Regions from separate parts of the Homo sapiens genome. Here regions 1, 2 and 4 are each linked to region 3. Evidence: promoter capture Hi-C in 16 types of primary human blood cells and fetal thymus (Javierre and others, 2016). All regions are on one chromosome and are shown on one strand. The core of a region is centred on a gene start or on the middle of the fragment in contact, and the rest is flanking DNA. Distances in the headings are between cores, read along the strand shown. Region 1 has its middle 95 kb from the start of PLPPR4. Region 2 has its middle 53 kb from the start of PLPPR4. Region 3 holds the start of PALMD (palmdelphin). Region 4 overlaps PLPPR5-AS1 (PLPPR5 antisense RNA 1).

The links. Contacts are between HindIII fragments. The CHiCAGO score rates a contact against its expected background, and 5 or more counts as called.
Region 1: a fragment that was not itself captured here is called in contact with the fragment with the promoter of PALMD in region 3 in 1 of 17 cell types (monocytes); the score reaches 6.9 in monocytes.
Region 2: a contact is called between a fragment that was not itself captured here and the fragment with the promoter of PALMD in region 3, in 1 of 17 cell types (M1 macrophages). The highest score is 5.1, in M1 macrophages.
Region 4: a contact is called between a fragment that was not itself captured here and the fragment with the promoter of PALMD in region 3, in 1 of 17 cell types (M1 macrophages). The highest score is 5.5, in M1 macrophages.

The regions. Positions count from the first base shown.
Region 1 is chr1:99,165,508-99,172,744 of GRCh38, forward strand. No RefSeq gene overlaps it. Among named protein-coding and RNA genes, the nearest start is that of PLPPR4, 95 kb to the right of the region's middle. The HindIII fragment of the contact is 3,163 bases long and covers 1,748-4,910 here.
Region 2 is chr1:99,208,291-99,214,908 of GRCh38, forward strand. No RefSeq gene overlaps it. Among named protein-coding and RNA genes, the nearest start is that of PLPPR4, 53 kb to the right of the region's middle. The HindIII fragment of the contact is 1,468 bases long and covers 684-2,151 here.
Region 3 is chr1:99,643,652-99,650,787 of GRCh38, forward strand. It overlaps PALMD (palmdelphin), which reads left to right and starts at 2,462. Exons shown (of 8, transcript NM_017734.5): 1 at 2,462-2,711. The coding sequence starts at 2,667. The HindIII fragment of the contact is 18,161 bases long and covers 1-7,136 here.
Region 4 is chr1:99,137,349-99,144,639 of GRCh38, forward strand. PLPPR5-AS1 (PLPPR5 antisense RNA 1) reads left to right here. Exons shown (of 3, transcript NR_033940.1): 2 at 6,688-6,782. Among named protein-coding and RNA genes, the nearest start is that of PLPPR4, 120 kb to the right of the region's middle. The HindIII fragment of the contact is 1,577 bases long and covers 5,022-6,598 here.

The DNA.
Region 1 (7,237 bases), core at 2,079-4,578, 480 kb before region 3:
AAGCCATGTGGATATCTGGACAACAAACCTTTAAGGTAAAGGGAACAGTTGTGTAAAAGCCGTGAGGCAAGATTTGGTGTGCCAAGGAAGCCATGATGGCTGGAGATGAGTGAGCGAAGAGGAGAAAGGCAGGGCATGAAGTCAGACAGCAGCAGACCAGATCATGGGCTCGTAGATAGGGGACTTATAGGCCATGATAAGGATTTGGGATTTTACAAAGAGAGAGACAGTAAGCCCTTAGATGATTGTGAGGTGAGACATTATAAAATCAAGCATATGTTTGTTTAAAAATAGCTCAATGGATAAATGAACAAAATGGAAAAAAAATTAGTCCTGAGACACAGGGCTGTAATGATATCTCCTATAGACATGGACAGGGAGAATCTTTTATCAACATTCATCTTATAAAGCACAGGGGAACTCTGAGATTCAAATGGTGTTGAACCGATTCTTGAAGGGTGACTGACCAGCCATATACAGTGACCCCTCCTAATTCTGCCTGTGCCCCACCCCAACTTTACTTTTTTCTCATAACTCTTATTTTCTAATATTCCACTTTTTGGTTGATTTATTTTTGTTTGTCTTCTTTCACTAGAATAGTAGCTTCTTGAGGGCAGGCAACTTTGTCTGCCTTAAGGAGTGCTCTTTCTTGAGTGTCTAGAACAGTGTAAGTGTTCAATGGAGAGTTGCTGAGAAGATGAATGAAGAGATGTGATAGAGTGTAGCCACGGGTATCCCATTGTACCTGAGGCCACAACGTGAGTGCTATGTGATGCCATCTCCTCTCCCAGACTCACCCTGCACCACCACACTGTGGCTCAGAGACCAGCAACACTGCCCCCCTTTCTCCTCCTTCCATGAAGTTCTGTCTCCTCTACAGGAATTACTCAATATGAAGTTTCCCTCTGGAACAAAAAGGAGATTCCTCCTTCTTTCATGGTCTAAGAAAACACATTGAGAAAACTCCAGTGGTTGAAAACGAGAGTTTTAGCATTGTTATAAAAAATAAAAATCATTGTGTACCTTGAGATCCAGGAGAGCAGCATATATTTGCAATATCCAAATCCCTAAAACAATGGCAGCTTGGACAATTTTCTAAGTACCTTATTTTCTCAACATATTTTCTGTTTAGGATATTTTTGTCAGGCTACCAGCATATGGCTAAGATTTATCTTGTTGGGTAGATCATCTGCTTTTAAATGAAATACACAATACCAATAAGCAATTTCCTGCTGTGACAGAGAAAGATTAGAAAGTACTTATGCCGCAAAAGTGCACCCATAATTATTGTTCAATTTACTTTGACTGAAAGAATGAAAAGAAAAGAAATTTGTCTCCCCAAGGTAGGTAGATATATATAAAATAGACAAGTTTAGAAGAATAGCCTCAAAATTTGGGATACAGGTTTCAATTTCATACTACTTTCAAGGTCATTCATAAACTGTAAAGTCATATTTGTTGCCAGGAGAGACTATAAATGTCATAGAGGGTAGTAAAACATGCACATACTGACTGAACCAAATTGTTTCAATGTTTTCATCTTTGCACAATGCTTTGGATTGTAAATTTAAAATATGTATATATATATATATCATTGGCAATAGAAGAAAATAGGTTGGAGTTGGCAATGACATCTAGCTGAGAATGATTAAATGCAAAATATCTTTTTTTGTGAAAGAAGAAAAATATACTACTTCTTGTGACATTAACATTTATGTTTTGGGTGAGTATATTTGATGCTTGATTAAGCTTAATATCATGGAACATAGGACAAAACATCCCTGTCGATTCTCATTTTCTGTGATATATATTAATTTTTACATTTGGTGAAGGGGTAGAAAAGAGGTAGACAAACAGAAAGACACACTGAGCTGTTTATTCCCTGTGATTTCATGTATTATGGAAAGAAAATTTCAAATCTGAGATTATCCCAGAAGACACTCTGGTTCAGTGCTTCTTAAATATTAATGTTCTTAAGAATCACATGTGGATTTTGTGAAAATTCAAATTCTGATTCAATAGTTACAGGATGTTTCTTGGGATTCTTCATTCCATGCAAGTCCCCAGGAAAAGATGATACAGCTGGTCACAGAATCATACTTTGTAAGTGCTAAGGTCTGGTCCCTCACCCAATGTGAACCTATAAAAAATGTGACGGTTGCAAAGAAAAATCTACTTCCAAAAATAAATATAACCTATTCCTAACCAAGGGAAATGTTTCTGTATCATCTAATGTTGTATATTATTTGCATCAAAGTTTACTTCTTATTGTGAAATCAGAGAATAATCAAAAAGTGACTGTATTTGAACATAGAAGCCTTACTTTATTATATTCCAAAATTTCATTCTAGGTCAGAAATCATATTATTGGTGAGATACTGTTAAAATACTGGCTTTATAATATAACCATAAATAAAATTATGGAATTAGTAATACATCTCAGAACACTTTTCTGAAAATTCCTATTAATATAAATATCTTAATCTGAATTTTTATTCTTTTAAACTCTGGATAGTTTGTTTTATGTTTGTTTAAATCTAAGTTAAAGAGAAAACTGGGTTGGGGAGAGTTTCTAGAAGACTCTTCTAGTCCAGGAGAGGTGATGATGGCTTCTCCTGGTTACTGGCAGTGAGCAGTGGAGAAATGGAAGGACCAGGAGCCAAATCAATAGGCTTTACGTCTGTGCTATTACAGACAATTTCACTTCCTCCTATGAGGCTAGCTAGTTATCTCAATGCTATTTATTGAATAATCTATTTGTCTGCCATTAATTTGAAATGCTACTTTTATCATATACCTTATGAGAAAATTATCCCACATATACTTGGTTTATCTCTTACATCTGGCCTTTTCTATTGATTTCCACATTCTGAGGCAGTACCACACTGCTTTATTACTATATACCACATTGCTGCTATATTTTAAATTTTCCCCATGCTTACTCTTCCAGATGAACTTTAGAATCAAGTAATAAAGTTCCAAACTTTCTGTTGGGATTTTGAGTAGTACTACATTGCATATTTAAATTAATTTAGTAAAACCAACATCTTTCTAATTTAAGAATTTCAAATGAAGAATAGAAGATGTCTCTATTTTCATTCAAATTTTATTTTATACTTCTTAGTAAAGTCTGTGGCTTATACATATGCATATTGTACAATTTATTTAAAGTTTTTTTCCTTGGAAATTATCATTGTATTATTATTGTAGATGACATCTCTTTTTCCTTCATTTCCCTCTATCTGGCGGTTGTTGGCATTACAGAGACTTTTACATTACCTTGTACATTATTTAGATTATTTGGCAATTTAATTTATCAGACTCTCTTATTTGCTTCTATTGGTTTTTCAGTTAATTTCTTGTCATCTCTAGGCATAGCATATAACAATATCATTTAGAGACATTCATGTATTATATTTTCTTTTCTAGTGCATACACATTGTATTTCCTTCTTTAACTTCTAACTCCTTTAACATTTCTCTGACAATATTAAATAACAGAGATGGTAGCAAGTATCTGTGTCTTTCTAGTTCATGACTTTAATAGAATACTTTTATGGCTCACTATAAAGCATTTTGCAAACCATGAGATATATATCATAGTTATACATTAAGGAGCATTTAATATTATGACACTTTTAAACATAATATCATTTTAGTGTATAAGAAATAGAAATGATATCCATCTTGTGTTTATGATTTTATTTTTCTTTGAGACAAAGTCTCACTCTGTTACCCCAGGCTGGAGTGCAGTGGCACGGTCCCAGCTCACTGCAACCTCCGCCTCCCGGGTTCAAGCAATTCTCATGACTCAGCCTCCAGAGTAGCTGGGATTACAGGCGCCCACCACCACTTGCAGCCAATTTTTGTATTTTAGTAGACACAGGGTTTCACTGTGTTGGCCAGGCTGGTCTCAAACTCCTGACCTCAGGTGATCCATCCGCCTGGGCCTCCCAAAGTGCTGGGATTACAGGTGTGAGCCACCGCGCCCAGACTGTTTATGATTTTTTTAAAAGGAATCATAGTTGAGTTTTAGCAAACCTGTTTTAGTACTCATTGATAAGATCATTTACCTACCCTTGTAACTTCTTAAAATAACTAATAAAATTAATACATTCCAGATGTTGAACTATTCCTTAATTCCAAGAATAATTCAAGTAGGTCATGTACAAAAATATTAAATACATTATGATGTTAACCATTTGGGGAGTATGCCATATTTTTGCATCAATAGTCAAATTTTGTTTTTAAATTATTATTTGCTTTACTGGGGTTTTTATCTGCACAGATTAGAGAAAGATTTGTTTTTTAAATCTATATTATCTCTCTCAGATTCCAGTGTATGTGTAATTCTCACTTTGCAAAATAATTGAAAAGATTTCTTTCTTTTTATGAAATCAGGCACAGTTTAAATACCAATGTTTCTATTTCTATTCATGCTTTGAAAGATAATCTTTGAAATCACTTTGATTGGAAATATTGTTCAAGGATCTCTTGACAACTTTCTCAAAATATTTTCCAGTTATTGGACTTTGGATATGTTTCTCTTCTTGTATCAAATTATATAATTTGTATTTTATCAACAATATCAGTTTATATTGGATTTTAGTTATTATTCATTACATATTATTGAATTTATTATTCATTAGTTGAGAAAATTATGAGTTTCTATTTTCTGAAATATTCCTATCTTTCATGATTTAATTTTCTTGTTATTGTTGGTTTTGTTTTTCTCTTTATTTGGATTATCAAATTTATTGGCAACAGAAGAAAATAGGTTGGAGCTAGCAACGACATATATCTAAGAATCATTAAATTCAAAATATAGGTTTTTTGTGAAAGAAGAAAGGTATACTACTTCTTGTGACATTGACATTTATGTTTTGGGTAATTATCGTTGATGCTTGATAAAGCTTGATATCTTGCTGTTGTTGTTGTTACTGCTGCTGTTTTCCAAGAATCAAACCTGGGGAATTTGTGTTTGATTCTGCCTTCCCCTCTTGTTCCAAAATTCATTAATATTCTTATTAAAACATTCCTATTGCTTTCCTAACATATATTTTGGTGATCTTTCCCACTTTCTTGGCTTGGACGCTTAATTAACTGATTTTGATTCTTTCATATTTGGTGGTGAAGCTATTTAAGATACCTGCCATTCTGTGCAAATCTCTGATTTCATCTCCTACTATCTTTTTGCCTGTATTTGACTCATACAAAATTAGTCATACTTTAACTAGATTTAGATATGACTCATCTGCATAGGATGCATTGTAGTTGGACTTTGTTTCTTTAATAGAGCTGACACCATCTTTTTAAAATTTAATTCTGTCCTTATGTTATTTTCTAATCAATATTTTTAATAATTATGCATGGTTTTATTCCCTCATTTATCTAATTCTTTTTGCTTGTGTGCTTGTATGCTTGTTTTTGTGCTCCCTCTGATCCTTTTATAATGTATGTGCTATATGGTCTATGTGCTTTTCCCTAAATAATTTGGAGGGCATAGTCTTTTAAAAATTATATCACTGAATACCTACCAGACTTCTTAAGGCTAATTAGAATTAACATACAATATGAGTGCTATGGTAGATATTACTGTTCACCAATGAACAGTTCCCCTGTTCTTCCCTGCATAAGAGAAGCTGTGCTCCCCTAAGACCATATAGTTATATGGGGCCCTCAGACTTGTTCTGGGCAATAAAATGTGAGTAGAAGTGACTGCGTCGTTGCAGGTAAAGGCACTGAAAAATCTGTGGCACACCCCATTCTCTCTCCCTCTCTTGAAGCACCTGTGAGGTTCCAGAAGGTGGAGCCTCAGTCTTCCTGGGACCTTTAGTGCAGAGCTCCAGTTGTCAACTTGACAGCGTACATGAGTAAGAAATAAACCACGGTTACTGTTAAGCCATGGACACTTTAGAGTTAAATTGCTACCACGACAAATCCTAGTCTACCCTGACTGATCCAAATAGAAAAGAGACTACAAGCACATGCAGCGCAACCTAAAATTAACGCTAAAATAGTTGGCACTGGCTGAAAATAAACATGCTGATTACAGGAAAGACAGTCTCATAGTAAAAGCACAGGCTTTGAAAGCAACCTTGAGGTTGATTAATGAATTGTATGAGTTTGGCTATTTTCTTAACCTCTGGATGTTTATGTCATTCTTATTTGTGAGATGGGGTTAATAACTACCTTGTAGAATGTCTTGGAGAATTATTAACCAAAACTAATATATGTTAAGCACTTGGAGTCTAGTTGGTCCCAATGAAAACAGATACAATAATTATTATGAGTTTCTTTTATTTATTCAAAGTATATTACAAAACAAAGCATTACTAAAATTTTTTGTTAGTAAAATCTTATGAATATTAATGAAATTTGTCACATAAAGTCAATAAAACTACTGGCCCAACTTTCATTATTTAATAACTCATTCCATGTCCACAGACAACCCCCCAAATCTTGAAGTTCTTCAAAGAAACCATATTCTCACATGTACAATATATTAAGTTCTCTTTGTGGACATAATCAGAGCTTGAAATTTGAGTTCTTTATATTGCAAAGTTTATGCTAAGGTATTTTCTCATGAAACGAGTACCTATGTGATAAACATAAAATACAGGACTTATTTTAAAATATAGAATTAGAAACTTCTATTCCCTCTCCTCAATATCAAATAACTTAAGGAAGATGTTAAAAGACAGAAGAGTGTTTTGATACTCCTAGCTTAGATGGCTAAATATCCTTATTGTTTTCTTTCTCGTTTATTTTCCTTCTTTCTTAAAAACAAAACTCTTAGGATCTTGGGTACATATGCAGGTTAGTTACATAGGTAAACATGTGTCATGGGGATGTGTTGTACAGATTATTTGTTCACTCCCTCCTCCCACCCCTTACCCTCTGATGGGCCCCAGTGTGCGTTTTTCTCCTCTATGTGTTCAGGTGTTCTCACCATTTAGCTCCTACTTATAAGTGAGAACATGTGGGATCTGGTTTTCTGCTCCCAGGGTACTTTGCTAAGAATAATGGCTTCCAGCGCCATTTAATTTTTTATTTAATCACTGAGAATTTTATTATATTTTAGTCACACTTTGGAGGCAATTGAGTCAATTTTTATTTGTTTAGAAGTTAGAAATACATGGATGTAGCGGTAAATATATATACCTTTACGTGTGTTTATACATACATATGTGTGTCTGTGCATGTTTGTATAAAACAAGATTTTTTTTCTTACATCA
Region 2 (6,618 bases), core at 168-2,667, 440 kb before region 3:
AAAACATATATAAAAGGCAAAATATGGTACATCTGTATAGGGCACTTCCTTGAATGGAGCTTCCAGGACTGTAAGTAGTTTCCCTGGGTAAGTGACGGAGTTGTGAGTGAATGTGAAGACCTAGGATATTACTATACACTACTATATACTTTTTTTTCTTCTCTTTTCTTTTCTTTTTTTTTTTTTTTTTTTTTTTGCACAGTTTCACTCTGTCACCAGGCTGTAGTGCAGTGGCGCAATCTCGGCTCACTGCAACCTCCGCCTCCCCGGTTCAAGCAATTCTCCTGCCTCAGCTTCCCGAGTAGTTGGGACTACAGGTGCGTGACCACCATGCCTAGCTAATTTTTGTATTTTTAGTACAGATGGGGTTTCAACATGTTGGCCAGGATGGCCTCGATCTCTTGACCTCATGATCTGCCCACCTCGGCCTCTCAAAGCGCTGGGATTACAGGCGTGAGCCACCGCACCCAGCCCTACTGTAAATTTTATAAACACTGTATACTTAGCCTATACTAAAGTTATAAAACAATATTTTTCAGTAATAAATTAATCTTAGCTTACTGTAACTTTTTATTTTATAAACTTGTTTAAAAACCTTTTGACTCCTTTGTAATAAGACAGATTAAAACACAAACATATTATACAACTGTAAAAAAATAATTTCTTTATATATTTCCTCCATAAGCTTGTTTCTATTTTTAATTTTGTTTCTTTACTTTTTAAACTTTTTTATAAAAACTAAGACACAAACACATGCACTGGCCTAGGCCTACATGGGTTCAGGATCATCAGTATCACTGTCTTTCTCTTCCACATTTGGTCCCACTAGAAGGTCTTCAGGGGCAATAATATACAAGAAGCTGTTATCTCCTATAATAGCAATGCCTTCTTCTGGAATACTTCCTGAAGGACTTTCCTGGGGCTGTTTTACAGTTAACTTTTTAATCTATAAGTAGAAAGAGCACACTCTAAAATAAAAATTAAAAGTGTAGTATAGTAAATACATAAATCAGTAGCTTAGTCATTTATTACCATTATCAACTATTATGTACTGTACATAAATGTATCCACTATACTTTTATACTACTGGCAGTGCAGTAGGTTTGTTGACACCAGCATCACCACAAACACATGAGTAATATGTGTTTGTGACTTTACAACTGCTGCAGTGTCACTTGGTGATAGGAATTTTTCAGCTCCATTATAATCTTATGGGACTATGGTCATATATGGTCCATCACTGACCAAAAGTCCTTATGTGGTACACAACTATACTTTAACATCTTATAGTTGTATATCATTTTACATAATAGAAAAGATATATAATCTTATTTAATTTGCATAGTGATCTGGTGATATGGAAATGATTACACCCATTTTATCATAAAAAACAGGTTCAGAGAGGTTAGATTCCTGGCTTAAAGCCAAAGACCCAACAGCGCAGAGCCAGAACCAATGTATTGTGATGACAGGGAAAAAAAATCTTTCCCTTTATACCAGTTTACAATCCAACATGGGTCAATATCTGCTATGGGCTGTTTCTGTTTTTCCAAAATTCATATACTGAAACCCTGATTCCCAATGTGATAGGGTTGGAAGGTGAGACCTTTGGGATGTAACTGAATTTGGATGAGGTCATGGTGGTGAAGTTCCCATGATGAGATTGGTGTGCTTATACAGGGATGAAGAGACCCCCAACTGTCTCTCTCCACCATGTGAGGAAACCAGGAAGAAAGCCCTCGCCAGAACCTGGCCACACTGGCACCCTGCTCTTGGACTTTCCAGCCTCCAGAATGATGAGAAATACATATTTGATGTTTAAGCCACCCAGTCTATGGTATTCTTGTTATAGCAGCCTGAACTAAGACAATGTAAAAGCATGAAATATTTTATTTCCTTCTGGATACAGAATCACAACAGTAGGTCCAAGTTTGGAATGGGATTAATAATGTTTTCTGACAACCAGTGAGACTATGGTGTATAAGTAGAGCATAACTGCTTCAGTGAGAATTATGTTAAGAAGAAAAGGCCTTAAACTATTGAATTTATAGGGAACATTCAATTCTCTTTGCTATAATGCAATTTTTGCCCATATCTACCTGCTCTGATTAATGATAAGGCTTATGAAAAGGACATTTGTAATGTCACAAAAGCTTCCATGCATTTTACAAAGGATATCATTAATAATCAAGTTAAAACAACCCCAAAGGAAAATATCACATTTCTTTAAAAGATTTAGTGATGCTCAAAGAATGCAATCTTGACTTTCCTGCTAATGAAATAACTCCCAAAGTTTAGAAACATTTGTAATGCTATATGTTTAAAAAAGGAATAGAAAGTATCATTTATTTTTTGGAAAGTTTGTGTGCATTATACCAGTTTGGCTTGGAATAAGTTTGTGTTTATTTATTCTTCAATTTATTAGGTCTTCATTGAATAATAATTATTTTCCCAAATGTGCACTGAAGTTGCAAAATAAAACAGACACAATCCTTGCCCTCAAATTTCTTATACTATACTGGGAAAGATAGATATTAGGAGGGTAATATTAATATTCATCAATAAAGGACATTTCAGATGTAAGCAAGGATACTATGGCAGCCTAGAGAAAAAGCATCTAACTGTGTTTAGGGTGTCAGGAAAGTCTTGAAGGAGACCTAAACTTGGCTAGATAACTTGGAGTCCAAAAAAGTCAGGGTAAGAGTTTGGAATTCCATGCAGAAGAAAAAGCCTAAGACCAGAGATTGGAGACTGGAGTTGTTGGTGAATCATGGCTAAAGAGATAAGCACAGCACAGGTTAACAGAGGTCTTGTGAACCATTTATGGAGTACTGGCTTTGACTTTTTAAGGGATTTAAGCAGCGGAATTATATAGCTGATTTACCCTTCAGTGAGAGCTTCCTGGTTGCAATGTGGAAAATGGATTTGAGGGCGTCATTACTATTAAATTTAAGACATTACCTCCATCTCTTCAGAGATATTACTTTCTGTGACAATATGATAATAAAATGTGTTTCAATATATTCCTTTTGACTATCTCTACTCCCATTCCCCTCTCCCAAACTCAGGCCCTACGCAAACCCAGTAGTTAACTGTTAATACCCCAATATAGTGAAGACAGCCCACCATAGGAAAGAAACACACACACACACACACCACACACACACACACACACACATCTTTGACTCTGTATTAGTTATTTATTGTTGCAAAACCATATCCCTAAACCTAGCAGCTTGAAATAACAACAAGTATGTATTATCTCATAGTTTCTATGAATCAGAAATTCAGCTTAGCTGGGTGGTTTTGGCTCAGTGGTCCTTAAAAGTTTTGTAGTCATCATGTTAGCTGGGCGGCACTCATCAGAAGTCTTGGCTGGAGGATCCACTTTTCTGATGGTTCACTCAAATGGCTGTTGCCAAGAGGCCTCAGTTTCTTGCCATGTGGACCTCTTCACAGGACTCCTTGTGTGGCTTCATGACATGGTGGTTGAAAATGGACACCACCTCAGCCTCAAGATGCCTGACTAGTGTTCTTAAAACGTTTATGGTTTTAGAATTTACCCAGAGGAAGGAAACACAAGTTCAGAGATGACAATTTAAATCACTTGAGACTGAGTTAATTATCTCAAATGTGACCAAAAGCCATTATGCTTGTCTAAACTTACATGGAATCATCTGAAAAGAGTTGCCTACCAGAAGAAACCTGGGGGCTAAGTCTGAAATCAAAACTAGTTCTAGACATAAAATTCTATTGGATAGAGGCAAATCTTCTTAGCTGTAATTGATGAAATAGAGTAAAAGGTAGTGGGGAATATGGGCTAGCTAAGCTAATGCTTGTTTCCAAAGACTCACTGAAGACTCAGTTGTGGCCCAAAAGATTACTCAAGAACACCTGACTTCTAGATCTAGTATAATTTGGATTCAACTCTAAGAATTCAAATCTCACATATCTACTTGGGAAACCAAGGATGATCCAAAATATTTTCGTAATACTAGTATGCAGTAATTCTTAGAAGCCCAAGTGAAAAGAAGCCAAGGGAACCTAATAATAATCTGAGTGTCATTTAACTTGAGACATTTGGCTTGATAATATTACAATAATGTGTACACCTTTATAAAGGTGTTTTATAAAGGAATTTTTATATGTATTATAAAAGAATTTTATAAAGGAATTTCTAAATGTACTATGATTTCTTGCATAAAGATAAAACCTGATAGGCAATAGAATGCATGTTAAAGAGTAAAACTCAAATGAGATTTTCAAAAACATCATGTCTACCTTAATAAATTATGTAAAAGATTGATGATCAATTAATTTTAGTGTTATCAATGAGCTTAACTACCAGGATAATTTTTCTCCCCCAAAATAAAGAGCTTACTTCATAAGAAACTTAAAAGCATGAGAACAAGCAAAATAATTATCATTTCTCAAAAACTCCACTTTAAACAGAAGGGGATTGTGTGCCTTTTCAGCATAAAACCAGCAAGAAATGATATGTTAATATTTCTAAGATGCACATCAACTTAATTAATTAAAACCTAAATGAAAAATAAAATACAGGCAATGAAGGAAACAATTTCTCTATGAAGTCTTCCTGTAAAATTACATAAGCATTTTTAATTCTGTTTTTGGCACACCTGAAAATTACTATACTTTCTGTCTTAAATTACTACTTCTTTCAAATTTTTGTAAGTTCATCATATGTAACTGAGGATGTATTATAATACCTATCAAAGCGAAAGATCCACTGGACAAAGTTAAACAAGCAAGGGAGATGTTATTCAAGGCTATTGCCATAGGGGAATGACGCCAGAGCTCAGTCTCAGCTCAACTCTGTTGAAACAAAGGCCTGGGGAGTTTTTAAGAGTTGAGAAGAGGGAATCACAGGTCAGATGTGTTTGCTAATTGGCTTTACCTAAAGGACAAGTGAATTTTCTCTGAACTTATGACAGTAAGTAGTTTTACAACTTGGAGCAAGGCATCCACTGAAGTTTGGCTCCCACCCTCCCACAGAAACTGGGAAATAGGAATGCTATCTTCCTTGGTGATTATATTTCAAAGGGATGACTCTCAGACCCTTAAGAAAGATAGTCCTGGGATGTAAAACTGGCAAAAGGATTGTCAAAGTTTTATTTTTTTTTTTATTTTTTTTTTATTATACTCTAAGTTTTAGGGTACATGTGCACATTGTGCAGGTTAGTTACATATGTATACATGTGCCATGCTGGTGCGCTGCACCCACTAATGAGTCATCTAGCATTAGGTATATCTCCCAATGCTATCCCTCCCCCCTCCCCCGACCCCACCACAGTCCCCAGAGTGTGATATTCCCCTTCCTGTGTCCATGTGATCTCATTGTTCAATTCCCACCTATGAGTGAGAATATGCGGTGTTTGGTTTTTTGTTCTTGCGATAGTTTACTGAGAATGATGGTTTCCAATTTCATCCATGTCCCTACAAAGGATATGAACTCATCATTTTTTATGGCTGCATAGTATTCCATGGTGTATATGTGCCACATTTTCTTAATCCAGTCTATCATTGTTGGACATTTGGGTTGGTTCCAAGTCTTTGCTATTGTGAATAGTGCCGCAATAAACATACGTGTGCATGTGTCTTTATAGCAGCATGATTTATAGTCATTTGGGTATATACCCAGTAATGGGATGGCTGGGTCAAATGGTATTTCTAGTTCTAGATCCCTGAGGAATCGCCACACTGACTTCCACAATGGTTGAACTAGTTTACAGTCCCACCAACAGTGTAAAAGTGTTCCTATTTCTCCGCATCCTCTCCAGCACCTGTTGTTTCCTGACTTTTTAATGATTGCCATTCTAACTGGTGTGAGATGATATCTCATGGTGGTTTTGATTTGCATTTCTCTGATGGCCAGTGATGATGAGCATTGTGTATTTTGTTTTTAATTGACACATAATTGTACATATTTATGGGACACCATATAATGTTTTGATACATGCATACATTGTGTAATAACTAAATCAGGGTAATTGACATATCCATCACCTCAAACATTAATGATTATTTCTTTGTGGTGACAAAATTCAAAATTTTCTAGCTATTTTGAAATATACTATACAATATTGTTAACTACAGTTGGTCAATGAGTACAAATGTGCAGTTAGGAGGAATGAATTCTGGCAAAAGGTTTTTTTAAAAAAATTTACATCTCAGAGAGGCAGGGAAATAATCTAAAATTATGTTTTCTAAAGCAAATGCTCTAAGAAAAGGGAGGTCAGGAGCCTAGAGTCAGGAAGAAGCCTGCCTAATGTTTGTTCAAGCTGTGGAGAACATTAAGGCTGTTTTGGTCATACCAAATCTATATTCTCACATGTTTTTCAGCTTGTCTGTTAACCTGTCACCAGCGACAGACTCTACTTTTGTGCCAGATTTCAAGTCCTTTTCCTTTATTTCAACTAACAAGTCAACTGAGGCAGGGATGAGACTCAGACACCACAAACTGGAACTCAGGGCAAATAAGTGCCCTTGACACCCATTTAGTGTAATCTCCCCAAGTCTCTAACCATATCTTCACAAATAGGTGAGAATCTCTTCTGTACAGAGACTTTCAAAAGGGCAGCCCCTGCCCTCAATAAT
Region 3 (7,136 bases), core at 1,212-3,711:
TGTTTATTCATTCATTTAGTTGACAATACTAATACTTGTTAATTTTTTAAGCATTTGTTATTCATTCTGCACATATTTATTGAGAACCTCTGATGTGTCAGGCACTGTGTTAGGTGTCTGAACAAAATTTCTCCTCTCCTGGAACTTACATTCTGGTAGACAATAAAAGATTAAGTAAACAAAATACAGTAGATGTGGAAATGATGATGTTATTCTGGATCCTATAAGAAACAAATGCCAAGATGGGTTAAATGTACAGAATTTTATTAGGAGAAATGACTGTATGAGAGAACATGGGAGGACAGGCAGAAAAGGCTGGAGCTGGACATGTCTAAGAGGCAGGTGAAAGAGAAAGGGAGGCGAAGTTGAGTGGAAACATCCTAATCTGTATTGCAGTCCAAGGGAGATTGTCAAGACCATCAGAGCTCTGGCTCCAGGATTCCACTCAGGTCCCCCAGATTTTCCCAGCTCCAGCCTTTTCTGCCTACCACTCACATGATGATACCAATCAGTTGTTGCAACTCTGCTCCCTCCTAAATTCCCATCCTCTTTTTTTAAATCTTGTCCTCCCCTACACTAGCAAAATCTTGGGTTTTCCTCTAGCAGAAATGAGATTTGAGAGGTAAATTGTTTTTAGGAAAAGATCCAGACTAATAATTGGATGACTGCCCATTTGTTCTAGGCACCAAATATGCAATTCTGACTGAGATATTTATCATTACTGCTTTCTTGTCTTTAATTTCAGCCAGGATCTACAAATAAACATAATCAGAAGTCTTGAAGGTTTGATTTTTTTTACACTTAAATATGTTTCCAACAGTAATCAAACTTGGCACACATCCAAACAATCCTCCCATTCTCTGGTCTCCCTAAGTATCCCTTCTGAGGGTGTATGAGCAAGGACAAACTACTCTCAAGTATAATTTCAGACTCTTAAAACATGGGTTTCACCTTATAGTGACTGACAGAATGAGGGCTCTGTGGTTGGGGAACTCCAGTCAACAATGTGGGGAAACCTCAGTAGGGCCAATAAGTTTCTCCAGAGGACATTCCCACACCGTTCTGCCTTAGGCTGTTACACCCAGCTGTAGTGTTCTAGGAGCTAGACAGAGAAGGAGGCTGGGGGTCCAACCACTTCTCATAAAGACTGACTTAACCTTCAGCCTGTGCCTCTCCTTGCCCCGTGTCCTTGGGCAGTCCTTGATGAATGCCACTTATAAAGTCAGGCAGCTGGTGTTCCAATCCTGGCTTTGCTACTTACTAGCTATATGGCAAATTACCTCTCTGAGCCTGTTCCCTCATTTTTAAAGTAGGGATTATAGCACTTATCTCTCAGCACTTTGCAAGTATGCATTTACCTGTAGAAAGAATGCAACAAATATTAGCTATTATTATTACTAATATCAAAACTGCAAAGGAAATTAAACCATATGTTCAATGTTTGGGTTGTCCTTTTAACCTCTTCAGCTGAATGTTGATATGAAAGCGCTTAATAGCATTCAAACACATAATAATAAGGTAGTTGGTAATTAGGATTTACTTCAGCAAAATTTAATTAAAGAACCTGTAGGGAAAAGAAAACAGACAGAGCCAATTGTACAGCTTCCCAGCCTCTGCTTTGACCTAAGAGTCTCACTGGGCTTGCCTGCCTTTTTCTAAAGGATGGGCGAATATTCACACAGTGCCGGGCTCCAGGCAGTTACCAAATGTCTCATCACATTTTCAAAGGCTCACTCCTCTCTCTTGCGTAACCGGTGAGGTCAAAATGGGCACCTTCCTGAAAGCCAAGAGTGTCATTTCTGAACAGCGTCCAAGAAAGAAAACTGCATTCCATAGAAATCCAAGTCAAGCAATAACAAAAGGTGGCACTTGGTGCTTAAGCCACACTAAATACCTTGGTGGGCCAACTTCTTAATATAGTCACATTAACACCTTTGATTTCTCCATGACCTAAAGATTCCAAAGTTTGCAACAAAGTGCTGAGCAGGGGGGTCGGGGGTGGGGTGTAGACGGGGGAGAACGAACCAATGTAAATTTACCACTACATGAAGTTTAAAGTAGCTATAGATTGTTGTATTATTATCAAATCCAATCAGTGGAAGAAAGGCAAACAAGTGACTTGGCACTTCTGCCTCAGTCAAGGTAAGGCTCTCTCCCCTAGAGCTAGCAAGCAGGTAAACGAGCTTTGTACAAACACACACAGACCAACACATCCGGGGATGGCTGTGTGTTGCTAGAGCAGAGGCTGATTAAACACTCAGTGTGTTGGCTCTCTGTGCCACTCCTGGAAAATAATGAATTGGGTAAGGAACAGTTAATAAGAAAATGTGCCTTGCTAACTGTGCACATTACAACAAAGAGCTGGCAGCTCCTGAAGGAAAAGGGCTTGTGCCGCTGCCGTTCAAACTTGTCAGTCAACTCATGCCAGCAGCCTCAGCGTCTGCCTCCCCAGCACACCCTCATTACATGTGTCTGTCTGGCCTGATCTGTGCATCTGCTCGGAGACGCTCCTGACAAGTCGGGAATTTCTCTATTTCTCCACTGGTGCAAAGAGCGGATTTCTCCCTGCTTCTCTTCTGTCACCCCCGCTCCTCTCCCCCAGGAGGCTCCTTGATTTATGGTAGCTTTGGACTTGCTTCCCCGTCTGACTGTCCTTGACTTCTAGAATGGAAGAAGCTGAGCTGGTGAAGGGAAGACTCCAGGCCATCACAGTAAGTCTGCATACAGTTATAACTCATTAACGTTGTTACTTAGAGGAAGGCAGACCGTGGCCGGCTGCCCCTGTCGCTGAGCCCTCGCAAGTGGAAAAACAGAACTGTCAGCCTTCATGGACGAGTCTCTGTTTCTCTCTTAACCCTCATGACCCTCTGTAACTCTGGGGCTTCAGAACCTGAGTGCAGGGCAAACGTTCTTGATTTTCAAAAAGGCTGTGCCTGCATTTTAAACAACAATCAAAAGCTGTTAAGGCAGTCTGATTAACTATCTTTCACACTCTGTGGTGTACCTTAGAAATGCAGTTTTTCCTTAAATGTCCATTTGACTGGCATTAGATAAAAAAACAGATCCCCAACTTGGAAACTTTTTTAAGCTATGAATGCCTCAAAAAGTTAGAATTTTTTTTAAAGAGAGAAAAAGAAATTTTAAAAATGACCTGAAACTTTATATTTGTAGTGTGGTAGCATGTTCCAGAAAGCCTAAAATAATTAAAATGAATGTTAATATACGTAATTTAAGCATTAAACAAGAGAAAACTAGGTAAAAGCACGTATCAGATTAATTCTAAGATATCAGTTTCCAGCAGAGTCACAAACTGAATAAGATCCTGATAAAGGAATGCAGTGCATGCAGTGGATTTGGAAAATATTTTGTTAATACCGAGAAGGAAAATCGTACATTTTTTATGTTTGTTCCGGGAAAAAGTCAAAGCCAGAAATAAATTACTTTTCTTAAATGATCCAGCTTTCTTTTTAATTTTATAAAACCCTGTATTTGGCAGTAACTTGGAAATCTGTGTCACAATCATTTATCCCTAGCTATAACTTTTGATGTAATTGTTTTAAGAAGAAAAAGATCTTTGGAAAGCAATATCCCAATTTCTCAGCATTTTCTGCCACTGACATTAGGTATAGGAAAAAAATGAGTACTTTTTAAAAACTGATGCTAGATCAGGGATTTTTTGTTGTTGTTCTTAAAATTTTCATTGCATAACTAATTATGCTAATCCTAATTTAGATTTTTTACTAATTGATACAATATCTTAGTTTCACCCAGGAAACATTCAGTAAATTGAAATGTCTTCTTAGCCAATAGTAAGACACCAGAAGTCTATTGATAAGGTTGGCACTTTTCCATAAAACAATGCTTTGTTAAATGTCTAGCTTCTAATTATTACATTTTCCTCTCTTCAGAAAACCTTGGTCGGGATTATTGTTTGTTTTGTTTTGTCCTTTTTTGTCATTAAACTCAGCCACCATCTCAGCTGTCCTGCTTTAAGGGACAGGAACTCGGCTCTGCTCTGTTGTTTTTGGCATGGGCCTTTTACATTACAGCTGTTGTCTAAAGGTTACTTTATTAGACTGCGTGAGTTGTGTGGTCACAGGCTCCACTATTTCTAATGCTTATATCTCCTAATTAGCTAATTGAAATAGACAAGTAGACCCTTGTTCTGAATTTGCCTCTTTCAGTTGGGGGACACCCTCGCTCAAGCCCTTTTTCCCTCCAGTGTACCTTATAACTCTTACCAAAGCCACACATGTTCCAAAGATATGGCTGTATACAGTTATTTCTAAGGCTAGGAATCTTAGTCACTGAAGGTTCCAAACGCAAATAGAGACAGAAAATCCTCATAATGTCTTAAAAGCCATCAAGAGAGTAAGTAGCTTCCTGAATATGCAGATGTATGCTTTTTTGATGATTAAAAAAATTTTTGGATTATTCCATCAGCCTAAATATATCCCATTAGAAAGGATTAAACAAATCTCCCAAGTAAGATCACAAAGTAATTCTAGCTTGGAAGTAATATACTTGTATAAAGGTTGTAGGGAAAAAACTGGAAAAAGTTTATGGGAACAAATTTCTCATAAACCAGCCTACACCTCACCAGGCTAAATCCAGTCACATTTGTCACCACCTAGAGGAAAAGTGGAGCAGTGGTGTGTCCATGGAAACAACACATCCACTCTCCTCCCTCTTGGACGCCCTGGGACACGCCAGCTTTCCTCGCCCTCGCCCTTGCCTTGCCCAGGAAGCCACCTCAGCTAGTCTCTTTCCCCCTAGGAAAATAAAATCACAGAGTATGCAGAGAGTTTGCAAGAATTATTTCATTTTTGGAAATGCTTAAGCCTCAGAATCTCCAACCTAGACTAAAACTCAGAGAGTATCTTCTCATTTTAGCTTTTTCCTAGTACTTACCTACACTGAAATAATTTTTTGTATACTTCAAGAATGAAATCAGAAGGCAATTCCCCAATGCACCCAGACATAGCAACACATAGACCTCACTTTGGAGGAAAAAAAAAAAACTTTTACACTCTAGGATCTATTTGCTTTTTACATTAAAATTCGTTTCTCCAATTGCTGGCTATAAAATAAAATAATCTTCACAGTTGTATTTATTCTACCTGGTTTCAAGTGCCTAAAAAGTCATTATTTTTCACTGCAAAGAACTGAAAAAATAAACGTATATACCTAGAATTTGACAGAACAAAGATCCAAGTGCCAGTCTTTTTCTTTTTCTCAAAAAAAAAAAAAAAAAGGTTAAACACATTAAGTAGTTGAAATGTGACACTTAGGCTCTCAAATTGAAAACTAAATTACTATCGTGATGCCATTCATTTCTCATATCAGATCAGTAAATTGAATTTTAGATTAGTCAGATGTCTTCTCAAAGATTTAAAGAGAATAAGAGCAAAATTATGAAAGTATGCAGAAACAATTGTTCAAGGGTAGATACTTCAGTTTGGGTATACCAAATATAGATTCTATTTTACACAATTACTTTCATGTTCTTCCTTAATACTTTATCCATGCACCAACTCTTCCCTTACTAAATTAATGGTCAAAGTACCCCTTTGCCTAGAAGTTCAGTTTTCAACTATAATTTAAACACAGGGCTGCTTAAAATTAATTAACTATTATGTTTGATCTTTAAAATGTCTCTTGAGGCCCTTTTCAAGTCAGTACACACTTGAACAAATAGCTGATCTTTCTACAAAAGGTGAGCTAATTGGAATTCAATAGTATTTTGAAATAGACTAGTAATTTGAAATTCACCTTTAACAATACTGGAACTGAGGATACCAATGACTCCAGCATTCTCGAGAAGAGTGAGATGAAGAAGCGTGAGATGAAGGACTGAACGTACCACTGACAGAGTTATCCCTACAGAGTTACTGTCTGAAAGTGAACGTGGCCCACACTGAAGAACAACGAAAAGGCCCAGGGGTCTCTCCTCAGAAACACAAAGATTCCCTTAGGATGAGTAACATTCCGTATACTCTTAACATCTCCTCCACAGCTAATACATTTTCTTACCCCCATGCCTACAGCGACATTGGAAAATACCATTACAAATATGGATATGCTCAAACTGGAAAATTAGATCTTAAACTGTCTTGCGATCATAGACTCAGTTCTATTTGAAGGATGAACTCAGAGGAAGTTTAAGAACTAGAATCCAATTTCAGAGAACAGACTCAACTGAGAAAAAGAGAGTAAGAAGAAAGCTGACATTTTTATTCTCCTCCAGGCTTACCTTTAACTGTAAGGAATGTGTGTTATCAACACAGTCTCTCATGCCTTTATTCAATTAATGGTTATTAGGCACCTACTATGCACCAAGCCTTGTGCATTTAAATGAAAAGAAGTGAAATAAGGGGAGTCTGGAATGTGAGGAGTGGGGATGGGAGTGCATTGTAAGTTAAAATAGAGTGGTCAGGATGGGGTTCACAAAGAGGGTGACGTTTGAGCCTAGATGTGAAGGAGGTGAGTTCTGTCAAAAGTTAGACAATAAAAATAATCACAAGTACAAGCACCTGCCTAGGACTGCCTCCATTTGGAAAGGAGCCATATAAAGTCCTGACACTGGAATTTGAGCAACAGAGCCAGATTTTGCCGGCCAAAGCTGCTCATAATGAAAAAAAAAAAAAAAAAAAAAAAAAAAAAAAAAAGCTCTCACATTTCCCCTGATCAACTCCCTACTGCTTTCCACTCCCAAATACCCAAATAAATTTTTCTTGACTTGTAAATATAGGAATTTAAGAGACATGGAGTTCTTTACATAAAACAGAAATCTCCACAGTACAAAGACCAACATTAAAACAAGAACATGAGCACGGATGGGTTCTAGTTATTTCTTTAGCACATGTTCCCTGTTACAAGTGTCTCTGGGCACTCTACCTCATCTTGTTCCCTTTTTGTCAATATCTGGGCTCTTCTAACAGTCAGTAAGACAGTTAGTGACCCAAAAGCAAGACCTGCTGTGTGATTTGTGGGGCCCAAAACACAAGGGAATTGTGGTGGCCCTTGTTCAAAAAATATTCAAAATGTCAAGGTGGTGACAACAGAGCTTTGATCTAAGTGCTAGGCCCTTCTGAGCATGATGACCTGGGTGACTTCACAGGTCACAAACCCAAGAA
Region 4 (7,291 bases), core at 4,560-7,059, 500 kb before region 3:
CTCAGTGAATTGATCATTGTCTATGGAGTGGACAGGAAGAACCCATTGGGCTATTATTATAACCAAGTTTTCCAAAAAGTTTTTACAGTTAAGTTTTCAAATGTATTCTTAATAGGATCTAGAAAGATTTATTTTAAATGCTCCTGGGATTTTATTATTAGGATTCATGCTTGCAGTTATTCATACAAATATAGTATATATGATCATGCAGGAAACCAGAATATGCCACCCCAAAATATGCCTCTTTGCCATAAGAATTATTTTGAGCTGATTATTTTTAGAAATAGCTAACACATAAGAAGCCCTGAAAAGAGAGTAGAAATTACCCTTTTGTAAGAGCAATTTACATTTATAAAGGAAATCTGCATTTGTAAGGATGTCTCTCTTTCTGTATCAGCAGAAGGATGACTAAATCACCAGAAAATCTTATCAATGGAAAAGTAACCAATTTAAATCTGCATAACAAACCTTACTCTTGTTTTACTCTACTTTTTCTGGTTACCTCCCTAACCAGCCTTCCCTTACCCTCTTTTCTTTGTTTCCTCTGAGGATGGTATTTAAGTCTCAATTCTAAGCCACCTCTTTGAGATTTACTCACTTCTTTGGGTATCTCCCATGTACAGTCATACACCACATAACAACCTTTTAGTAAACAACAAACCATGTATATGACAGTGGTCCTACCTTTGCTGAAAAATTTCCATCGCCTACTGATGTCATAACCATCATAACATCACAGTGCAACACATTGCTCATGAGGACTAAACTCAGAGTTTTATCTTGCCCAAATTCCTATCTAAGGGGTTTTGGGAGTTATGCCCTACAAATCATAAATTCTCATCAGATGAGTTTTATTTAACCCTATATATCATGACTTACTTTTCCAACCCAACTCTGGCATAACATTACAAGACAAGGAAGAAAATCAAAATATTTTACCCCAACCATGTTTCTTTGCCATATCTTGAAATGGCTTTGCAAAGCTGTCCTTTATAGGGGGAAAATTTGCACCTGTAAAGAATCTCTGGTAACATAGCTAGATCTTTTTATTCCAGGCCCTCCCAATCGTAAAAAGATTAACTAAAAGTCTAGCACCTTTTAAAGATCTAAATAGGAAACATTTGTCATCTATTGTCTCTAAGGACAGCCACTATAAGACTTCAAAAGAACCCTGGTCTCCACAATCTTTTATCTTAACCTGAACATTTCCTTTCTATCAAACCCCGGTCTTTAGACAAACTCAACCAATTGTCAACTAGAAAATGTTTAAATTTACCTATAGCCTGGAAGCCCGTGCTTTGAGTTGTCCCACCTTTCTAGACCAAACCAATGTATTTCTTAAATATATTTGATTGATGTCTCATGCCTCCCTAAAATGTGTAAAACCAAGCTGCGCCCCAAACACACTGGGCACATGTTCTCAAGACTTCCTGAGGGCTGTGGCATGGGCCATGGTCATTCATATTTGGCTCAGAATAAATCCTTTCAAATATTTTACAGAGTTTGACTCTTTTCCTTGACACTCACATACTTGTGGTGATGCTGGTGTAAAGAAACCTACTGCATTGTCAGTCATATAAAATTATAGCACATACAATTAGGTATGATACATAATACTTGATAATAAATGTATTACTGGTCTGTGTATTTACTATACTATACTGTTTATCATTATTTTAGAGTGTACTCTTTCTACTTATTATAAACGTAAGTTCATTGTAAAACAGTCTCAGGCAATTCTTCAGGAGGTATTCCAGAAGAAGCCATTCAGAGGAGATAGCTCCATGCAAGTTATTGCCCCTGAAGACCTTCCAGTGGGACAAGACATGAAAAGACAGTGATATATATAACCCTGACTCTCTGTAGCCCTAGGCTAATGTGTGTGTTTGTGTCTTAGTTTTTGACAAAAATGTTTAAAAATTAAAAAGTAAAATAAAAAAATTGAAAAGTAGAAAAAAGTTTATAGAATAAGGACATAAAGAAAATAATTTTGGCTGGGCGCAGTGACTCACACCTGTAATCCCAGCACTTTGGGAGGCCAAGGTGGGTGGATCACTTGAGGTCAGGAGTTCGAGACCTGCCTGGCCAATGTGATGAAACTCGGTCTCTACTAGAAATACAAAAATTAGCTAAGTGTGGTGGTGCATGCTTGTAATCCCAGTTACTTGGGAGGCTGAGGCAGGAGAATCACTTGAACCCAGAAGGTAGAGGTTGCAGTGAGCCGAGATCACACCATTGCACTCCAGCTTGGACGACAAGAGTGAAACTCCATCCAAAAATATTTATATATTTTTGCACAGCTGTACAAAGTGTTTATGTTTTAAGCTAAGCCTTATTACAAAAGAGTCAAAAAGTTAAAATTGGAAAGTTTGTAAAGTAAAAAAGTTATGATAAGTAAGGTTAATTCATTATTAAAGAAAGAAACATATTTTAATGAACTTAGTGTAGCCTAAGTATGCAGTGTTTATGAAGCTTACTGTACAGTAGTGTACATTACTGTGCAAAACTGTTCAGTAATGTCCTAGGTCTTAACATTCACTCCATGACTTACCCGAGGGAAACTTCCAGTCCTGCAATCTCCATTCATGGTAAATGCCCTATATAGGTGTGCCATTTTTACCTTTTATACAGTATTTTTACTGTGCCTTTTTTTTTTTTTTTTTTTTTTTTTTGGAGACCGATTCTCACTCTGTCACCCGGGCTGGAGTGCAGTGGCGCGATCCCGGCTCACTGCAACCTCTCCCTCCTGGGTTCAAGGATTATCCTGCCTCAGCCTCCTGAGTAGCTGGGATTACAGGCACACACCATCACGCCCAGCTAATTTTTTGTATATTTAGTAGAGACGAGATTTCGCCATGTTAGCCAGGCTGATGTCGAACTCTTGACCTCTGGTGATCTACCCACCTCGGCCTCCCAGAGTACTGGGATTACAGGCATGAGTCAGCAAGCCCTGCCTACTGTGCCTTTTTTATGTTTAGATATATTTTGATACATAAATACCTACCATTGTGTTATAATGTCTACGGTATTCAGCAAAGTAACATGCTATACAGTGTTGTAGCCCAAGAGCAATAGGCTATATCATGTAGCCTGGGTGTATAGTAGGCTCTACCATCTAAGTGTGTGTAAGTATACTCTATGATGTATGCAGAGCAATCAAATCACCTAATGACACATTTCTCAGACAATATCCCTGCATTAAGTGATATATGACTTTATATATAAAATATACATGTTAAAAAACTTCTGCTTGTTTTTCTCCTGTTAATCTGTCTTTTGTTACAGGGGTTTCCATCTGAGAACTCAGAAAGAATAAGAGAAAACTATTTTTCCTTTCCTATAATCATATATTAAGTACAATACGTATCATGCATATTAACAATAATGACTTACTGATGGTTCGTGGTTAGTACATTGTTTAATAATGGCATCTAGATATTTTCTGTCATGTATATGGAGATCCAGTAATTTCTATATTTTTGGAAGCATTTTTCCCTTAGAAGTGTGCTGTTCTGGATATATACCCCTGGAATATTATTTTCATAATTATTGATCATTTTACAGACCCTTTCTTATTAAAACAACATAACTATTCAATAAAAAAATCTAAATCCAATGACAAGATTTCTTCAGGAAGTAACAAGTGAAATAAAAATGAAGCAGTATTATGGCTCATTTTATGTTATTTTATCCAGCTGTCATGTTAATACATTTCTGTTGACACAGTAAACCTATGGCTGCTGTTTCAATGGCTAAAAGCCTATTTATATGCACCCTATCAATGTTTTATGAATAGATTTCCCATCATATCTTGACTTAGAGCAAGATGTGTTACTTTCCTGAAGGATATCTTCTGTGATCACAGTCTCTTGATGACTTTTAAAATAAGGACTTTAGGCCAGGCGCAGTGGCTCACGCCTATAATCCCAGCACTTTGGGAGGCAGAGGTGGGTGGATCATGAGGTCAGGAGTTAAAGACCAGCCTGGCCAAGATGGTGAAACCCCGTCTCTACTAAAAATACAAAAAATTAGCCAGGCGTGGTGGCGGGCACCTGTAGTCCCAGCCACTCAAGAGGCCGAGGCACGAGAATCGCTTGAACCTGGGAGTCGGAGGTTGCAGTGAGCTGAGATCGCGCCACTGCACTCCAGCCTGGGCGACAGTGCCTCCTGAGTAGCTGGGATTACAGGCACAGGCCACCAAGCCCAGCTAATTTTTTGTGTATTTAGTAGAGACGGACTATTCTATTTCACTTGTTACTTCCCGAAGAAATCTTGTCATTGCATTTAGATTTTTGTATTGAATATTTATAGTTGTTTTAATAAGAAAGGGTCTGTAAAATAATCAATAATTCTGAAAAATAATATTCCAGGGGTATATATCCAGATTTATTCTCAACCAAGGAGGCAGAGGTTGCAGTGAGCCGGGATCACGCCACTGCACTCCAGCCTGGGCAACAGAATGAGACTCGGTCTCCAAAAAAAAAAAAAAAGAAGAAGAAGAAGAAGAAAAAAAGCACAGTAAAAATACTGTATAAAAGATTAAAATGGCACACATATATAGGGCATTTACCATGAATGGAGATTGCAGGACTGGAAGTTTCTCTCAGGTAAGTCATTGAGTGAATGCTGAGTGAATGTTAAGACCTAGGACATTACTGTACAATTTTGTACAGTATTGGACATTACTGTAGAGTAAGCTCCATAAACACTTATTTATTCAAAAAAAACAAAAATAAAAATGTAAAAAATAAGGACTTTAAAGACTCCCATTATAAAATGGGGTTATTTTCTGAAATGTGTATTGATCATTTATATATAATAATTTTTCTATGCAAATGTTTCACATAAACATTTGCTAAGGTCTCATAATATCACTAAGAAATAATAACAATTTATTTGATAAATATTTTTTGACAAGCTACTCTGTTCCAGAACCAGACAATACAATGGTAAACAAGATTGACGTGGTCCCTGATCTCCTGGAGCTTACTATCTAATGAGAAAGACATTGTTAAAAAATAAGCTTAGTTGCATTCAAATTTTAAAGAGTTTATTTGAGCATTCAGTGATTCATAAATCGGGCAGCACTGGACTGCAAATAGTTTGGCACTCCGCTGGAGAAGTGAGAAAGGAAACTTATGAAGTGTTGGCACAAGCAAGACAAACAATTATATAATTGGTTAGAGTGGCAAGTTCCTAGTTGGAGGTTAGTTGATAGTTTCTCAATGGCTAGAGGTTTGATTTGCTTTGGTAGGAACTCAAAGCGCTAGAGCCATGCCAATCTAATAGCCCCCCAGTTACAATTATTTTTAACAGCATTCATTAAAAAATAGAATTGTTACACAAAATTTATTCTTAATTGTGACAAATATTACAAAGCAAAAGCAATTCGCATTCATTACATTCATTCATTTATCAAATGTATATGTCAGGGAATATCCAGGGTGAAAAAAAAAACCATGAATATTACAGTTCTTCTATCAATAGCCTAACTTGTTATCTCTAGGAAGATAGATAAATAAAAACACAGTTAAAGATGATGAGGATAAAATAGAGACCAATAGATAGTAATACAGCATTCTAGAGGAGAGGCTAAGATTCTACCTGGGCAAGCATAAATGAAGGCTTCTCAGAGGAGTTTACATTCTGTGTGGTTATGGCAGAATAAACAGAATACGGCTGATAGAAAAGTTAGAGAAAAGGAATCTAAGTAGAGGATACTTTTAAAAAGGCAGTGGTGTACAAAGAATGATATATTCTTTAAAAAACTTGTTGTTTCAATCACAACATAGGTGGGAACTATTGTATAAAATGCAGAGCTGAAAATAAGTCCTCCTTGTCCTTTTGGAGCTCAAAGTCTAGAAGTTGAAGGAAAAAAAGTACAAATAAGTATATGTTATAAAGTGTTTATTGTATTAGAATCCTATGCCACATCTATAATCTGATTTCAAAATATCAGAAAATTATTACTTTTAAATGTAAGAAAATGATCACATAAATATCCATCAAATTAGTGTGGGAAAAGAGCAAGAGGGAATAATGATCTACTTAAATATTTAAAATATAATCTTTAACACCTTTATAATTTAAACAGTTGGGAACTGGTGAATGAATGGACAATTGTAGGCCTATGAATAAAAATAAATGAAGTAATTGAAATGTGGTACTTCAAATCAGTGGGGAAAAGTGTGTTTTAATGACAGATGCTTAGAAAAAAATAATAAATCTGAACCCTTACTTTGAGGGACCAGTGAGACTCCTCCCCCTTCCTTCTGAATTTCTCTAAGCACTTCTTGCCTCTCAACACCTCCTTACAGTCATTAATAGATTTGACAGGAAGAACTGGGTTGAGCTCCACCTATTACTCTTTTCTTTCTCCTTGGAATTGGCTTGCCTGCAGAAAGCATGCAATTGATCTACTCTCAAATATGCAGTAAACTGGTAGTAACTGCCTTCTCCCTCCAGTAGGCACCTATATTGTCTTGTGCTTCCTGTGACTGGGTGGGTGAGGCTACCTGAAAGATCAACGAGGTCTGGTATTTAGCTTAAGGAAAGAAAAAAAAATAGACTTCTAGTGTTGTTAGAGTGAATGCTTTCAAGCTTTGCTGAGGCTTGACAAAGTACAGAGCGTGTGGGTTTGTGACTCTAGCAGGTGTTGCTGGTGTATATCATGCTGTATTTTTCCAGGTATACCGATGGCTGCAGCCTGAGCCAGTGACTTTAAGCCTTGGACATCAAGCAGGCAAACCAGGCAAGATTTTGACCTTGCTGCATTACTGCAGGTATGGCAGGTTTGCCCAGAGGTGAGTGGCTGCTTTTATATAGGAAGGATTGTGGGCAAGTGGCCTTAACTAAAAAGCATGCAGGGCTCACAGACCCTAAGCTGCTGCAGCTTATCCTCTTGTCCCCAAAGGGGCAGTCTGCTCTGCCTATTGCTGGAGAGGCTGACATAGAATTCAATTTATTTTCATGCACTGGGAGGCAGCATCATAGTTCCTACTTTTAATTGCAAAGAAGCTGGTGTCCCTGTGAACTAGTGAATTTCTGATTTGAAATTGTTGGTGTTAGCCCTAAAGAGTGTTAGAAAACTGCTCCAAATCCCATCCTACACCCATAGTCCCATGGAGGGACAAATCTCGGATTCATGTGGCTGGTTCAGACGCTCCAGTATGATGCCCCTAGCATGTGGTCTCCAACTGGTCTGGATTAGTTAATAACGCAAGCTCTGACCATGGCTTTAGGGTTACCAAATCCAATGTGTATGGAATCTTGCGGGCACATGGCAGAGGTA